Regions from separate parts of the Homo sapiens genome. Here region 1 is linked to region 2. Evidence: promoter capture Hi-C in 16 types of primary human blood cells and fetal thymus (Javierre and others, 2016). All regions are on one chromosome and are shown on one strand. Each heading gives the region's core, a stretch centred on a gene start or on the middle of the fragment in contact. The rest is flanking DNA. Distances are from core to core; before and after follow the strand shown.

The links. The method cuts DNA at HindIII sites, captures the fragments that hold promoters and counts their contacts. A CHiCAGO score of 5 or more calls a contact.
Region 1: a contact is called between a fragment that was not itself captured here and the fragment with the promoter of LILRB2 in region 2, in 1 of 17 cell types (M0 macrophages). The highest score is 5.3, in M0 macrophages.

What each region holds. Positions count from the first base shown.
Region 1 is chr19:54,322,281-54,327,870 of GRCh38, forward strand. No RefSeq gene overlaps it. Among named protein-coding and RNA genes, the nearest start is that of LILRA5, 12 kb to the left of the region's middle. RefSeq lists a silencer at 2,897-3,191. The HindIII fragment of the contact is 479 bases long and covers 2,013-2,491 here.
Region 2 is chr19:54,277,218-54,282,901 of GRCh38, forward strand. LILRB2 (leukocyte immunoglobulin like receptor B2) reads right to left here and starts at 3,893. Exons shown (of 14, transcript NM_001080978.4): 1 at 3,744-3,893; 2 at 3,246-3,327; 3 at 3,047-3,082; 4 at 2,574-2,858; 5 at 2,128-2,430; 6 at 1,595-1,891; 7 at 1,043-1,345; 8 at 672-722; 9 at 333-380. The coding sequence starts at 3,279. It overlaps MIR4752 (microRNA 4752), which reads left to right and starts at 4,892; the gene lies at 4,892-4,963. RefSeq lists an enhancer at 1,807-3,006. The HindIII fragment of the contact is 13,229 bases long and covers 1-4,978 here.

The sequences.
Region 1 (5,590 bases), core at 1,002-3,501, 43 kb after region 2:
GCACACTCCTGTCATCCCAGCTACTCGGGAGGCTCTGACAGGAGAATTGCTTGAACCTGGGAGGTGGAGATTGCAGTGAGCTGAGACTGTGCCACTGCATTTGTAGGGACCAGCCCCACAGGGTCGGTGGGTCTCTCCCTGTGTGTGGTGACGATAGAGTGTAGAAATAAAGACACAAGACAAAGAGATAAAAGAAAAGGCAGCTGCGCCCGGGGGACCACTACCACCAATGCGCGGAGACCGGTAGTGGCCCCGAATGTTGGGCTGCGCTGTTATTTATTGGATACAAGGCAGAAGGGGCAGGGTAAAGAGTGTGAGTCACCTCCAATGATAGGTAAGGTCACGTGGGTCACGTGTCCACTGGACAGGGGGCCCTTCCCTGCCTGGCAGCCGAGGCAGAGAGGGAGAGGAGACAGAGAGAAAGACAGCTTACGCCATTATTTCTGCATATCAGGGACTATTAGTACTTTCACTAATTTACTACTGCTATCTAGAAGGCAGAGCCAGGTGTACAGGATGGAACATGAAGGCGGACTAGGAGCGTGACCACCGAAGCACAGCATCACAGGGAGACGGTTAGGCCTCCGGATAACTGCGGGCGAGCCTGACTGATGTCAGGCCCTCCACAAGAGGTGGAGGAGCAGAGTCTTCTCTAAACTCCCCCGGGGAAAGGGAGACTCCCTTCCCCAGTCTGCTAAGTAGCGGGTGTTGTTCCTTGCCACTTACGCTACCGCTAGACCACGGTCCGCTTGGCAACGGACGTCTTCCCAGACGCTGGCGTCACCGCTAGACCAAGGAGCCCTCTGGTGGCCCTGTCCGGGCATGACAGAGGGCTCGCACTCTTGTCTTCTGGTCACTTCTCACTGTGTCCCCTCAGCTCCTATCTCTGTATGGCCTGGCTTTTCCTAGGTTATGATTACAGAGGGAGGATTATTATAATATTGGGATAAAGGGTAACTGCTACAAACAAATGATTAATGATATTCATATATAATCATAACTAAGATCTATATCTGGTATAACTATTCTTGTTTTATATTTTATTATACTGGAACAGCTCGTGTCCTCTGTCTCTTGCCTCGGCACCTGGGTGGCTTGCCACCCACAGCATTCTAGCCTGGGCGACGAGCAAGACTCCGTTTAAAAATATATATATATACATATATAAACATATTCCTGAATGTCTATACTATAAAATATTTTTAAATATAACTTATAAATCTAAAGATAATACCTTAAAAAAGGAAATAGAATTGAGTTCCTATCAAATTAGGGCATTACTAAACAAGGAAGAATTATTTGTACTAGAATGTAAGCAAAATTACTTGACCATATATTTTATAATGCATATATTATTTATCATATTATATAATAAATGTATACTTTTAAATCAAATTATATATTATGTAGTGACATATAGTTAATATTATTATATAATTTTGACTATATATAGTAAAACATAAGTGAATACACCCTCAAAAATGTTTAATTCTTAAAATATGTATGGTCAAAAATTCTAAATTTCATCCTAGAGAAATAGCTGACTCCACATTCGGAGAGAAAATACAGGAGATGAAGTCAGAACTTCTTATCATGCAAGAAAGCAAAGACATCACCACATACCATCAGATTCATGTTACCTGAACATAAAGTCTATCATGAAAAGTTCCCAATGGCAAAATGTGGAATATTTATAGAATCAAATAATATAGGTAGTGTATTAAAACTAATGAATATGTTCAAAGCCTATCAGTTTACTACTGTTAAAAACAAAATTAAAAAACAAAAAACCCCTCAAATATGAGGAATGGGAAAAGAACAAAATCTCCACATCAAAAACGTGGAAATGAAGGCAAGAAGCAAGATCTCTTTTGTTTATCTGAAGTGTTACACAGGAAACATTCTTTTCTGTAGAATGTTTCTACATAATAATAAGTATAGTAATAGCTATAGTAATGTTTTTGCCTAAGAATAGCTGTAGAGTTTTTGCATAATAATAGTTAACCCTGCAAAGCTTGGATAACCTGTGCGTTGAGTATACAAGCAATAAACATCAATGGCTGCCAAAACCCTTAGGCTGAAGGTTGATAGTGAATATAATAACGAGTGGATCCTGCTGATAGTACAGCCATCAGTACAGAATTGCAAGGTGGAGAATGCAAGACACAAGCAAATGAGCCATTGTGTCTCACTTCTGACATTTTCTAAGCATCTTTTTCACCATACCCTCAAATCTAGACCGTTATCTGGCTGGGCGTCTCTATGTTTCTTGGATTTGTGTGTCAAACTCTCTAGCGAGTTTAGGAAAATATTCATGGACTATATCCTCAAATATATTTTCCAAGTTGCTTATTCTCTCTTCCCCTTTCAGGAATGCTGACAAGTCATACATTTGGTGTCTTTAGATAATATCATATTTCTCAGAGATTTTGTTCACTTTTAAAAATATTTTTTCCTTATATTTGACTGATTTGATTCAAACAAGTCTTCAAGCTTTGAAATTCTTTTCCTCAGCTTGGTCTATTCTGCTGTTAATGCTTCTCATCGTATTATGAAATTCGTGTCATGAATTTTTCAGCTCGAGAAGTTCAGTTTGGGTGTTTCTTAAAATTTAATCGTTCATGTCATTAATCATTTTACTGGATTGCTTGGCTTCCTTGGATTGAATTTCAACTTTGCTCTTGATTTGAATGACCTTCCTTGCCATCCAGATTCCAAATTCTACGTTTGTCATTTCAGACAATTCATACTGATTAAGAACAATTTCTGGGGAGCTCGTGGACTGGTTTGGAGATAATAGGAGTTATTTCCCTGATTTTTTTTCTCATCTGGGAGGGTTGCTATTCCTTTCATTGCAAGGGTATAAATTGAGTATAGTCTGTTGGCTTTATTTCTGGAAGTTTTCAGGGGACTAAGGCTCTGTACAGGGTCTTTGCTGAATTCTTGCTCTTGGTTTTCCAGGCGGTAGAATTTAGTAAAGTGATTTTTGGTGTTGTAGTGTGGCTGTAATCCAGTAGATGGCGCTTGAGAGCAATAGGCAATAGACAGGCTCTTACTCCACTGCGTGGTGCCTTTGTTTATCTTTGTTCTTGACCTTGATACTTTTGAAAAGGTCAGAGCAGTTTTTTTGTTTTTGTTTTTTGAGACAGGGTCTCACTTTGTCACCCAGGGTGGAGTGCAGTGGCACGATCTTGGATCACTGCAGCCTCAACCTTCCCAGGCTCAGGTAGGTGACAGAGCAGGCAAGTTAACTTAAGGCCTCCTCCTTGGCAATCTGGTCTCAAGTAGGGGACAGGTCCCCACAGACAGAACTGAGGGGCAAGTGTGGCATGGGCTCCAGACCCCGAGCACTGGAATTAGACACCTCTCCTTTGCAGAAAGGTTTAGCCTTTCCTCAAGCGGTTCTGCAAAGGAGAGGTGTAGCTGGGGTGGCGTGGGCAATGGTGGTGGCAGAGTTTGTGTGAAACTTGTCTCTTCCCCAATCACTGTCACTTGTTTCAGGAGACGTTGTAATGTGCTGTATGGTTTGACCTCCAGGCCAGTAGGTGGCAATTGCTGGTGAGAGCCAGTTGTAGCGCTGGCAGTGGGCTTTATGCTTGACCTTTGTTAACCAGAAGCATTCAGGTATCCTAAGTGATGGGTTGGGTTGTGGAAAACTCAGTGGTCTTGATCAGTACTCTGCCTCCAACGCAGGGAAATGAAGGTAAGTGTGGCTGGTCCAGGCAAGCCTGTACTCAGGCCCAATGCTAGGCACAGGCTCCGTCCCCACAGAGGCTACATGTGTGGTTCTCAGGTCCCTGGAGAGACACTCAAGCACTGAGTAGGGCAATGACTATTATGCCAAAGTTACAGCAGAGTTCCCCAGAGGGGCACGTTGGGTTCCAAGCCTAGAAAATGACAGTGGGACTCACTTTAATCTAATGCTCCCAACCCAGCAGAGCTCCTCCCTGTGGCCCAATGCTGGAAGCAATTTCAGACCGTCAAATCACATGCGGTTTGATGTCAGACCACTCAACTACCCCAGGCCACAGATCTTGCCTCCTGGGTAAAATCCATGCCTCTCAGGCTACAACTTTTCCCCCTCGGTTCTGTCAAAGAGAGGTGTCCAACGCCAGTGCTTGGTGTCTGGAGCCCATGCCACAATTGCCTCTCAGTTCTGTCCATGGGGACCTGTCTTCTACTTGAGCCCAGATTGTCAATCTCTGGCCCAAGACTCTCCGAAGTAGTGACCCTCACCCATGTTTGATGTCAAGTTCTTTTTTTTTTTTTTGAGACGGAGTCTCGCTCTGTCGCCCAGGCTGGAGTGCAGTGGCGTGATCTCAGCTCACTGCAAGCTTCGCCTCCCAGGTTCGTGCCATTCTCCTGCCTCAGCCTCCCGAGTAGCTGGGACTACAGGCACCCACCACCGTGCCCGGCTAATTTTTTGTATTTTTAGTAGAGACGGGGTTTCACCGTGTTAGCCAGGATGGTCTTGAACTCCTGACCTCGTGATCCGCCTGCCTCGGCCTCCCAAAGTGCTGGGATTACAAGCATGAGCCACCACGCCCAGCTAATTTTTTGTATTTTTAGTAGAGACGGGGTTTCACCGTGTTAGTCAGGATGGTCTCGATCTCCTGACCTCGTGATCCGCCTGCCTCGGCCTCCCAAAGTGCTGGGATTACAGGCGTGAGCCACCGCGCCGGGCCGATGTCAAGTTCTTGCACTGCCCACTAAGGGTTAGGATCAGGAATGGCCTCTTTCTATCAGCATCCAGGTCTGGGAGCACACATGGAGCACTTCCCTGGGCCCTTCCTTTTCACAGTCCTCCCGCTGTTCCCTAAGTCAGATCCAGGGCTTAGGTCGGTCAAAGAGCTCCCCAGTGGCCTGGATTGCCTGGCTCCCCACTGAGAATGGGTATCATGTGGTCTCATAACTTCCCTCTCAGGCACTGGAAGTTCACTCATGGTTTTCTGCCAGGTCTTGCTGCATGAGCTGCTGCCTGCCTTCTTTTTAGCAGTATCTGAGATTTCCTTCACTTTCATATTCAACTCCTGTATTAGTCCATTTTCAGGCTGCTGATAAAGACATACCCGAGACCAGGTAATTTATAAGAAAAAGAGATTTAATTGACTCACAGTTCCACATGGCTGCAGAGGCCTCACAATCATGGTGGAAGGTGAAAGCAACATCTCACGTGGTGGCAGGTACAGAGGAAATGAGAGCCAAGCAAAAGGGGAAACCCCTTATAAAATCATCAGCTCTTCTGAGACTTATTCACGACCACAAGAACAGAATGGGAGAAACTGCCTCCATGATTCAGTTATCTCCCACCGGCTCCCACAGCACGTGGGAATTATGGGAGCTACAATTCAAGATGAGATTTGGGTGGGGACACAGCCAAACCATATCACCTCCCATGTTCTTTCTTGGATACAAGAATGCAGAATGAATCTCTACACACCATTTTGGTATTTTCACCATCTCGGAAGACATAACAGTGTATTATATCCTTAAAAATCACTATAAAAGTAGATTTTAAGGGTTCTTACCACACAAAAATTAGAAATATGGAAAGTAATGTATATGTTAATTAGATTGATTTGCCCAACAG
Region 2 (5,684 bases), core at 2,643-5,142:
GAGCCTTACCGTCCTGAACCACGACTCTGCTCCCCTCCCCTGCCCCAGGTCACCGTCTCTGCTGCAGGTGGGACGGGACAGGCCCCCGCGGAATCGAGTCTTGGAGTCTTCCCTGAGGGGCCTCCTCTCCCAGGAGGTCACAGCTGGGAGTGAGAGCTGAAAGGAACTTTCCCACCTGCAGGCCTCTCTCCTTTACACTTGGAGAAACTGAGGCCCAGGCAGGGGAGGAGCCTGTCTACATCACCACCTCCAGAGGAGCCTGAACCTAGGACAGAACCCACCCCTGCCTCCCCGGGACCCCGCCCACCTCCCACTCAGAGCCCCTCACTCACCACTTTGGGGATCCGACCCAGTGGGGGTGAGGGGCTGGTCCTCAGGGCCTGCTGGGTCAGGACGGGGAGGTGAGGGCTGGGGCTGCCCTGCTCCCCACATCAGCCCGGCTGCTCCTCCCCCAGGCTGGGCCCCAACATTTCTCTCTGCCTTGACCCCCCACCCCTCACCAGCCCAGCCTCAGAGCCCTGGGGACCCTGTGGCCCCTCCTCTGGCTCTGCCCAGCTCCCTGGACAGAAGCCCTTGATTGAGTCCCTGAAGGGAATGGGATCCTCCTGGACACTCAAAGCTGCCCTGGGGGTCGCTGCGCTCCCTTCGAGCCAGAGGCCTCAGGGACTCACCAGGTGTGGAGATGGGACCGGTGGGTGGGGGGCTGGAACCCATGGAGGGTCCTGGGTGAAAGAATGAGAGGAGGGTGAGGAGCTGGGGCTTTCCTGAAGTCTCCACCTCAAACCAAATTTCTCTACATGGGCCCTGTGGCCTCCCCAGGCCCCTCCCTCCACCCGCCTCTCCTGTCCATGATGCTGGCGATGCCGCTGAGTGTGCGCAGGCCTGGGAGGGCCTGTTGTCCTCCTTCCCTCTGAGGGTGAGTCTCCCACTGGCTGAGCCCCGCTCAGACCCCCGCTCACTCCATCCCAGCCCAGAGCTCTCCTGGGGGGCAGGGCCTGAGCTGAGCCTTTGAGCTCAGAGAGGACAGGGTCAAGGCCCCCACCTGAGACCACGAGCTCCAGGGGCTCACTGGGGTGAGACAGCAGGTAGGGGTCGGAGTTGAGTGAGCCGTAGCACCTGTAGGTCCCCGCGTGGGCTGAGGTCACAGGACTCATGGGGAATTCAGCCTGGTACTTAGGATATTCGTGTATTGATCTTAGACGGAGTGGGGCATCAGCTGCTCCCGCCTTGGTCAGAAGGAAAGTGTGGAACTGCCGCCATGACTGACACAGCAGGGTCACGTTCTCTCCTGAGGCCACTGTGGGGCCTGGCTGCACTGAGATGAAGGGTGTGCCACGGATCTGTCCTGGAGAGAAGAAGGATGGGTGAGGGGCTGCCCCACCTTGCTCTGAGCTGAGACCTCCCCAGGCCTCTCTAGGAGCCTCTGTCTCTGTTTTCTCTGAGTCTTCCCCTCCCCACCCATCCCCTGTCTCTCTCTCTGTCTCTCCCTCCCTTGGGACCACCCCCCGCCTCATCCTGGCCATCACTAATTGGATTCCCCCGGCAGGGCCTGTGCAGAGTCTGGGTCCCTGACTGAACCCGCTGGGCTCCTCACCTGTGATCAGGATGTCCAGGGGGTCGCTGGGGGCCGAGCACTCAGAGGAGAGGTTGTGTGCACCGTAGCATCTGTACTGGCCCCCGTAGGAGCGGCTCACAGGGCCCAGGGTGAAGTTGGCCTGGGAGAGCCCAGCCTGGGGCTGCCGGCCAGGGAGCTGGCGAAGGTCACGTTCCCCCTCCTTGTACAGAACAAATCTGTCATAGCCGACATCAGAGACACACTGGAGGGTCAGGCTTTCCCCAGGGGCCATGACAGGACCCGGCTGCACTGAGAGTGATGGCTTCTTAGAAACACCTGGGAAAAGGTGCTCATGGTTTCCAGGAGCCGACCCTCAGGCTTCCCCACAAACCCTCCCTCTCCCCCGGTGCCTCACCACTGCTGATCTTCCTGTGTCTCTGGCCCCAGGACCCCTGAGCCCTCTCGCCCCAACATCATCCCACCTGGAACTGCCCTGAGACACGGCTGCTCCCCACCTGCCTGGAGACTCAGGGAGACTCAGGGAACTCCAGACAATGCTGTGAATTTCTCACCTGGGACCAGGAGCTCCAGGAGATCACTGGGTGAAGACCACACATAGGGAGAGTTCAAGTCATAACCATAGCACCTGTGCGACCACCTGCGATTCGGGCTCACGGGGCCCACGGAGAAGATGGCGCGGGACGACCCACGGGCATGGGGCTGGGAGTTCAGGCATTGTGGGTGTTCATCTTCTCCTTCCTTACACAGAATGAAGCCGCCAAATGCCACCTGTGACTCACACTGGAGGGTCACCCTTCCTCCTGAGGTCACCACAGGGCTGGGCTGGGCTGAGAGGGTGGGTTTTGGGTAGGCTCCTAGGAGAGAAGGAGGCATCGTGTTAAATGGGGCTCCCACCTCCCACATCATCCCCAGGGCTGGGCTGTGAGAGGGAGACACCCCTGAGAGCCTCCTTCCTGAGGGCAGAGCCTGGGGCTGGGATCCCTGAGTGTCCTCTCACCTGTCATCACCAGCACCAGGGGGTCACTGAGCTCAGACCACCGAGCGCGGCTGTAATACTGACAGCCATATCGCCCTGTGTGTTCCCAGGTGATGGATGGGATGTGGAACTGGCCGTTCTTCACAAGCTCTGGTCGTATCCGTGTAATCCAAGATGCTGATTTTTTCTCCCTATATAGACGGTACTCCTGGGCTTCAAGGCTCCCCTGACAACTGAGGGTGACGGGACTCCCCTGGGTGATCACAGAGTCTGGCTCAGCCCACAGGGTGGGCTTGGGGATGGTCCCTGGAAGGAAATCAAAGGTCAGATTCGAAGTCATTTCCCACCCAACAGATCTCAGCTCTCAGCCCAGGACCCTCCAGATGCCCCCATCAGTCAGTCCAGAACTTCTAATCCCCATCCCCAGCTGCACGGAGGTGGCCCCTTGTCCCCAGTGAGGAGGAGGGACCTGGGAGAGCTGGGGACAGACTCACCTGTCTGCACGCGGGTCCTGGGGCCCAGACTCAGCCCTGGAAGAGAGTTCCCTGTGAGGGATTTGCCCCCTGAAGCCTGAGCAGGTCCTCCCCTCCCTGGGATCTTTGTGAGCCCCTGGGGTCTCCTTAGGGACCAGAGTTTGGCTGTGGGGTGAGGTCCCTCCTAGGTTAGAAGCTCCCCTCTCTCTTCAAATCTCACCGAGACAGATCAGGACTGTGACGATGGGGGTCATGGCGTCTCCTCCCACTGCCCTGCTCTGCGGATGGATGAGCCCTCGGTGCTGGCGGGACAGAGACACACAGAGAGAAATAGCCTCCCCTCCTTCCCACCCTGTGTGGACACTCAGAGGCTGGGTCCTTCTCATGGGGTGTTGTCATCTGCAGCCACACAAGAAGCGGAACTGCCCTCCCAGGAGCCTGACTCTCATTCTTTTAGAGCTGAGGTGGGGGCAGGCACTGGGCCCTCTGCAGACATTTCAGACTGTAATGGGGTCTTTCCTGACCCCCAGCCACTGTCTGTCTGGTTTCTCCTCGTCTCACCGAGAGCCGGGATGTAGCAGCAAATAGAACTGGTGCTTCTTGTGTCTGCCCTTCCTGATGAGGGTAGCAGTGGCTTCCCCTTCCTTCTCACAGCTTCCCACATGGTCACCCTCCCTCCTTCAGCCCATCCATCAGCACAGCGTTGTGGGGTCCTTACCATGGCAGTCGTCCCTCCAGCCCTGGAGATGCTTCAGGGAAGACCCAGGTCCATGCTGCAGGCAGACTCAGATCAGCAGAGAAGCATCTCGCCTCTGGCTGTGCTGTCCAGGTTGAGCTGTGTGTGGCAGTGAGCACAGAGGAGAAATGCAGGGAAGTAGGGGAAGAAAAGTTGACTTCTTTCTTGACACTGGATTGTGGGTTTTCTTTCAACCAAATAGTCCCCTCTTAACTTCCCCTTTTTAAATGTTTTTGCTCCAGCGTCCACTCCCTCCCCCCCGGGAAGAAACCTCTGAGTCTTTCCTGCCTCCTCGGTGCCCATTGCGTCCTTAGCCGTCCCTCTGCACCTCAATTCCTGGTCAACATTTTGGGAACAATGACTTATGTTTGAGCTTTGATTTGGGGAGTGGGGGAGGGAGTTGATATTTATTTGATGACTGGTTATCATCCGCTGCCTACGTGACCTTGGTTTGTAATGTCCCATCACTGAGCCTCAGTTTCTTCCTTTGCAGATTGTTGTCATGAATCCCACTCGTCACAGTGGTTGTGGGGTCAGTGGTGCCTGGGACATTGGGAGGGGCTCATTTGTGCTTGATTTCCAGACCAGGGTAAGACCTGAGGCTTTGGGACGTGAGAGGATCTTGCTGTTGGACTCCACATTCTGTAGGTGATTGATGAGTCCACTCAAGATGTCACATCTGACCGTAATGGAGAAACGTATGTGTAGCATTTCTGAAATACCCAGAGTATCAAGGTCATGAGCAGAAAAAGACATGTGGAAACCCCAAGTGTAGACGGACTCACAAGAAAGAACAGAGGCCAGAGGTGAGATGCCACAGGGTCCCGGGACCATCAAGGGCTCATTAGGGTGGAGGTTTCCACCACTGAGTGGAGCCGGGAGAGGAACCCCGGGATCTGCAATGACAGTGAGGGGCTCAGGGCTCCAGACCAAGGTGGGAGGCTGCGTCCTCTAGCTACACCTGAGGCTGGAGTGGACCCCAAGCAGCCCAGGGGAATTCCCTCAAGGGAGTGCACCAAACTGTCCAGACCTGCTGGAATTCCAAGGAAAGAAGCACTAAACACCAGGGTGTTCATAGAGCATTTATTAGGGGGACCTCTGCACAGTGGGGCATCCTTGTCTTCTTGCCCAGTGTCTCCTTGTGGATCTCAAGGATGTGCTTCCACATAGCAGCATGTTCTTCAGATGGACAAGGAGACACTGGGTATTCTATCCAAAGCTTTAACCTAAAATAAAAACAAAACCAAAAATAAACCCCTAGAAAATATGATCTCTCAGTACAGTTGTTTCTTGGGATACACAGGCAATTCGTTTCAGTACCCCCTACATGTACCAACACTTGCTCGTACTCCAGCCCTGACGTTGTCTCTGCTGGGTCTGCATATAGGAAAAGTCTGCCGTTCATATACGCAAGTCTTGTTTCTCACAAATGCTATAGTTTTGATCCCCGTTTGTTTGGAAAAAGTGTGCATATAAGAGACCCCTGGAATTCAAGGCTGCATTGCTCCAGGGTTGCCTGGATTTTGAGTTTATTTGGGAGTGAGAAGCAAGGATTACAATATGGAGTGCATGGCATGGCAAGCCACAGTGTGTCCAGAGAGGGAAGTGTGATGTTGTGATATATGCTGGTTTTCACCCGCAGTTCCTGGCTTGTAACTCCCATAGCCCTTGTTATAGTCTTTTGTTATAACATTGGCTGTGCTGGGCCTCAGGGGAGGCCTCTGACCTCCTCCTGCCCTTCCTTCACCTAACCCAAAGTAAGACTCGAATGTTCCCTGCCTTTCTGATAGTGGATCTTAAGACCCTCCCAGAAGACAGTCTCACCCTGTTCCTTGTGGGAGGAAATGCTGATGTCATGAAGCTTTCATAAAAGCCCCAGAGGACTGGGTTTCATGAGTTTCTGGGTGGCTGAGCATGCTAAGG